Linked DNA regions of Homo sapiens: region 2 is linked to region 1. The links are contacts of gene promoters, found by promoter capture Hi-C in blood cells and fetal thymus (Javierre and others, 2016). All regions are on one chromosome and are shown on one strand. The core of a region is centred on a gene start or on the middle of the fragment in contact, and the rest is flanking DNA. Distances in the headings are between cores, read along the strand shown. Region 1 holds the start of ATP5IF1 (ATP synthase inhibitory factor subunit 1). Region 2 has its middle 12 kb from the start of MED18.

Region 1 (2,675 bases), core at 80-2,579:
ATCTGTCTAGAGCTTTCTTTGCCTATAGAAATGAATGGCCCACTGTAAGGCCAATAAAGGGTCTCTTGCATGCGCAGTACTTGGCAGTTCAATTTAGGTTCCAAGAAGGGACTGGATTACAATGTTGGTTTGGTCACATTTAGGCCTCAGTTTTCCTTAACTACAAAATGTAGGGGCTCAATTAGATAGTCTCTAACGGCTGTACCTTGGCTCTCTATACGGTATGGCAGGTGTCATGGTGATAATTCTCAACAGAAGGCAGAAGTGAAAGGCCAAAGGACAAGCAAAAGCAAGATTAATTCCTCACTGCTCTCCAGAGTGGACAGAAGTCAGTTAAAGATAACTCAAGGCTGGCAAAGGGAGGCCCAGCCCACTCCATACTCCTAAGCAGGAGAGGGAAATCTACAGGTCTAGGTTGGGCTGAGTAGGGCAAAAGCCTTTAGAAGATGGTGTCCAACCATAAGTAGCTCCCATGACCAGCTCCCATCATCCTCACTCTTGCGGAGTCGGGGGTCTAGAAACACCTGAGAAGCCTGAATGCATGCAGGCTTGCAAAGCTAAGGCGTGCTGGCGAGGAAGGAGAGCGTAGAGGGGGTGACAGGTGGGTAAGGGCCGAGGGAGTCAGGCTGGGAGGCAAACGTTGGGCGGTCGGATCTAGACACTGTGCGAAGAATCTGGGGGTGTTTCGCACGACCTGAGGAGAACTCCACGCGGGAGATGGTAATGATAAAGGAGGAGTTGAGCCGTGGGTTGTTTTGGAGACCCGCCGGTGGAAACGGTTTGGGGGCCTGAAACTGTTGTGCAGGTAACTGGGAGTGCCCTATACGTGGCAACGGTCGGGACATCAAGGGTTAGGGTATACTGGATTGGGGCCCGGGAGTTCTGTTGGGGGATGGGGCGCCCAAGGCACCAGGTAGGAACGGGTGGGGCGATTGGCAGTTTAAGGATTGGAAGGCCATTGGGAGATCCAGGGCTGGACTTGGGACCCGGTGAGCCTCACCGGAAATATCGTTCCTCTTCAGCCTGCTCTCTCTTTCCGAAGGCCCCACCGGCTTCCCGGATGGAGCCCGCGCCCCGGTCGACATTCTCGGACTGCAGAGAGACAGGGACACTGGTAAAGGTACGGAAGCAAAGATGGGATCCGCCCGCGGGGCTGGAGCAGCGGACACTGCCGCAGCGTACCTGATCCGAGCCGAAGCCTCGGGCTTGCATGGTCCTCACGCCCCACACGCCAAGCCACGTCCGCGCCGCCAACGCCGTCACTGCCATTGCTGCTGGAGCTGCACCTCTGGCGTCTCTGCCGCAGCAAGCAGTCTCTCGTTACGCGCTAATGGCAGGGACGGCCAAGCACCCAATCTGGTCGACGGAGGGGCGGATGAACACAGGAGTAGCGAATCACGGGAGAGCGGAGGCGGGCTTCCCGGAGCTCACAGCGAATCCCGAGCAAGAGACGGGTTTCTTCTTAGCCAACCGCTAGCAAGGGCTTAGGGCCAAAGGACTGGAAAGAGGAATGATGGAGGAGTTTAGAGAGCTGAGTGAGGAGAGTGCCAGAAGCCGAAATTTCGGCTCTTGGACCCATCAGAATGAGGCGTGGCGTCCACCTCCAGCCCACGATTTCAATTCTAAAGTCGTTATTATTCAAAGCCCAAAGGAAGTTTTCCCTTCCCTGGCCTGCTAGCATCAATAAAATGGGGGAATTCGGGGTTTGGGAGCTGTGTCCAGGATGCTGATGTCCAGGATACCGACGTCCAATGTGCCCTGGCTTAGATATACATAAATCGCGTTCATTTGTTATGAGAAGTGTCAGTGTTCTGGCTGGGCGCGGTGGCTCACGCCTGTAATCCCAACACTTTGGGAGGCCGAAGTGGGTGGATCACCTGAGGTCCGGAGTTCGAGACCAGCCTGGCCAACATGGGGAAACCCCGTCTCTACTAAAAATACAAAAATCAGCCGGGTGCGGTGGCACGCGACTGTAATCGCAGCTACTCAGGAGGCTGAGACAGGAGAATTGGCTTGAACCCGGGAGGCGGAGGTTGCAGTGAGCCGAGATTGCGCAACTGCACTCCAGCCTGGTGACAAAGCGAGACTCCGTCTCAAAACAAAAAAAAAAAAAAGAAAACCCAAATTATAACTTGACCACCTCAGGCACAGTTTCCTAGGACCTCTTGAGGCTGTGTTTCCCCAAGCTATGGTCACTCATCTTGGCTCAGAATAAACCTTTTAAAAATATTTTAGTTTGTTTTTTTCGTTAGCAACATATTGTTGAATGGGCTTAATAACTGCACTTTTGGCAATGTGGTGCAATGCAGTAGAAAAGAGCAGGCCAGGCGCGGTGGCTCACACCTGTAATCCCAGCACTTTGGGAGGCCGAGGCGGGCAGATCACCTGAGGTTGGGAATTCGAGACCAGCTTGACCAACATGGAGAAACCCCATCTCTACTAAAAAAAAAATATGAAAAATTAGCTGGGCATGGTGGCGCATATCTGTAATCCCAGCTACTCGGGAGGCTGAGGCAGGAGAATCGCTTGAACCTGAGAGGCAGGGGGTGCAGTGAGCTGAGATCACGCCATTGCACTCCAGCCTGGTCAACAAGAGAGAAACTGTCTCAAAAATAAATAAATAAAAATAAAAAATAAATTAGCTAGGCGTGGTGGCACATGCCTGTAATCCCAGC
Region 2 (2,675 bases), core at 94-2,593, 100 kb before region 1:
CAATAAAATTCCAGTAGTAATGTTGAGAATCTACAACTTACTCTAAAATGAATATGAAAGAATAAAGGCCTATGAAAACCCAGTCTATATTTGTGTTGTTGTTGAGACAGGGTCTCAATGTGTCACCCAGGCTGGAATGTAGTGATCTCATCACAGCTCACTGCAACCTCAACCGCCCAAGCTCCAGAGATCCTCCTACCTCAGCCTCCCACATAGCTGGAACCACAGGTGCATGCCATCACACCTGGCTAATTCAAAAAAAATTTTTTTGGAGAGATAAGTTCTTGCTATGTTGCCCAGGCTGGTCTTGAATTCCTGGCCTCAAGTGATCCTCTTGCCCCGGCCTCCCAAAGTACTAGGATTATAAGCATGAGCCATCATGCCTGGATGCTAGATCTATTTTCTTTTCTTTATTATTATTTTTTGAAATATTACTACACTATAAGTCTATTTTAGAGGACAAAAAGGTAAGGGTACCTGCCCTATTGGTAGAAATGGCTCTACTATAAAGCCATAACAATAAAAACATTGTGTTGCGGGCACTGAAACAAAGAAATAAAAAATGAAATAGAATGGAGAGCTTAAAAATAAAGTATATACGAGGAAACCTAATATGTAACAACGGTAGCATCAGAAAGCACTGAAAATTGTTTTTCAGATGGTGGTAGAAAAACTAATTCACTGCAAGGAGAAGAAAGCTGGATTTTTACTTGAAACCACCTAGAAGATAGACTCCAGATGGATTAAAGACCTAAATGTGAAAGTTAAAACTATAAAGCTAAGAAGGAAAATCTGTTCCCTAAGGGTAAATGAAGACTTCCTACACAAAATTCTATGCCGGGCGCTGTGGCTCATGCCTCTAATCCTAGCACTTTGGGAGACTGAGGCGGGAGGATTGCCTGAGCTCAGGAGTTCGAGACCAGCCTGATCAACATAGTAAAACCCTGTCTCTACTAAAAGTAAAAAAATTTAACTGGGCGTGGTGGCATGCACGTATAGTCCCAGCTACTCAGGAGGCTGAGGCATGAGAATTGCTTGAACCCGGGAGGCAGAGGTTGCAGTGAGCTGAGATCCTACCACTTCACTCCAGCCTGGGCAAAAGAGTAAGACTCTGTCTCAAAAAGAAAAACTAAGGAACAAGATTCCAAACCATAATATAGTCAAAATTTAGGATCTCTGCTTAATTAATGACATCACAGATAAAGTTAACAGAAAGGTGACAGACTGAGAGAAGATATTTGCAATGTTTTAAGCAAAGGATTAATATCTAGAATATACAAAGGTTCTGCAGATCAATACCATTGAAAATAAAATATAAAAAATGGGCAAAGAATATAGATACCTTAGTTTCACATACTAAAAAAGTCTATATACTGTTACATACAAAGAAAGAAATGAAAAGATTCAAATGTAATTATAACCAGAGACAAGCAAATCAAAACAACCAAGAGCTGCCATTTTACATCCATCAAACTGGAAAAAACTAGAAAGACGGGTCATGCCACATCACACCAACTGGTGAGGATGTGGCTATGAGTTCTTGTTCACTAGCAATAGGAAAGTAAATGTTACAGACATTCTGAAAAGTAACCTGCAATAGTTGGCAAATGTGAGCATGCTCATAGCTATACAGCCCAGGGGATTTTTTTTTCTTTTTTTTTTTTGAGACAGAGTTTTGCTCTTGTTACCCAGGCTGGAGTGCAATGGAGTGATCTCGGCTCACCGCAGCCTCTGCCTCCAGGGTTCAAGCGATTCTCCTGCTTCAGCCTCCTGAGTAGCTGGGATTACAGGCATGCGCCACCACATCTGGCTAACTGCATTTTTAGCAGAAACGGGGTTTCTCCATGTTAGTCAGGCTGATCTCGAACTCCCGACCTCAGGTAATCTGCCCACCTCGGCCTCCCAAAGTGCTGGGATTACAGGAGTGAGCCACTGAGCCCAGTCTTTTTTTTTTTTTTGAGATGAGGTCTCTTTCTGTTGCCCAGGTTGGAGTGCAGTGGCGCAATCTCAGCTCACTGCAGCCTCCGCCTCCACCTCCCAGATTCAAGCAATTCTCCCACCTCAGCCTCTCGAGTAGCTTGGATTACAGGGGCATGCCACATGCCCGGCAATTTTTTGCATCTTTAGTAGATATAGGGTTTCACCATGGTGGCCAGGCTGGTCTTGAACTTCTGACCTCAGTTGATCCACCCACCTCGGCCGCCTGAAGTGCTGGGATTACAGGCATGAGCCACCGCGCCCAGTCATCCAGGGGAATTTTTATAACAATCTACGAATTTGCTTATTTTAGCATTTTTTATGGTAGTGAAGAGTTGCAGGCAATCTCAGGTGTTTTTGTTTTTGTTTTTGTTTTTTTTGAGACAGAGTCTCGCTTTATCGGCCAGGCTGGATTGCAGTGGCACAATCTCAGCTCACTGCAACCTGTCTCCTGGGCTCAAGCAATTCTCCTGCCTCAGTCTCCTAAAGAGCTGGGATTACAGGCGTGTGCCACCATGCCCAGCTAATTTTTATATTTTTAGTGGAGATGGGGTTTCACCATGTTGGCCAGGCTGGTCTCAAACTCCTGACAGGTAATCTGCCTGCCTCGGCCTCCCAAAGTGCTGGGATTACAGACATGAGCCACTGTGCCCAGCCAGGTTTGTTTTCTATTGTTGTTGTTGTTTTTAATAGATACA

The links. The method cuts DNA at HindIII sites, captures the fragments that hold promoters and counts their contacts. A CHiCAGO score of 5 or more calls a contact.
Region 2: a contact is called between a fragment that was not itself captured here and the fragment with the promoter of ATP5IF1 in region 1, in 1 of 17 cell types (M1 macrophages). The highest score is 5.2, in M1 macrophages.

Annotation. Positions count from the first base shown.
Region 1 is chr1:28,234,778-28,237,452 of GRCh38, reverse strand. ATP5IF1 (ATP synthase inhibitory factor subunit 1) reads right to left here and starts at 1,329. Exons shown (of 3, transcript NM_016311.5): 1 at 1,183-1,329; 2 at 1,001-1,092. The coding sequence starts at 1,269. RefSeq lists enhancers at 1,071-1,130, 1,924-2,430 and a silencer at 1,867-2,091. The HindIII fragment of the contact is 3,687 bases long and covers 1-2,675 here.
Region 2 is chr1:28,339,293-28,341,967 of GRCh38, reverse strand. No RefSeq gene overlaps it. Among named protein-coding and RNA genes, the nearest start is that of MED18, 12 kb to the right of the region's middle. The HindIII fragment of the contact is 2,939 bases long and covers 1-2,675 here.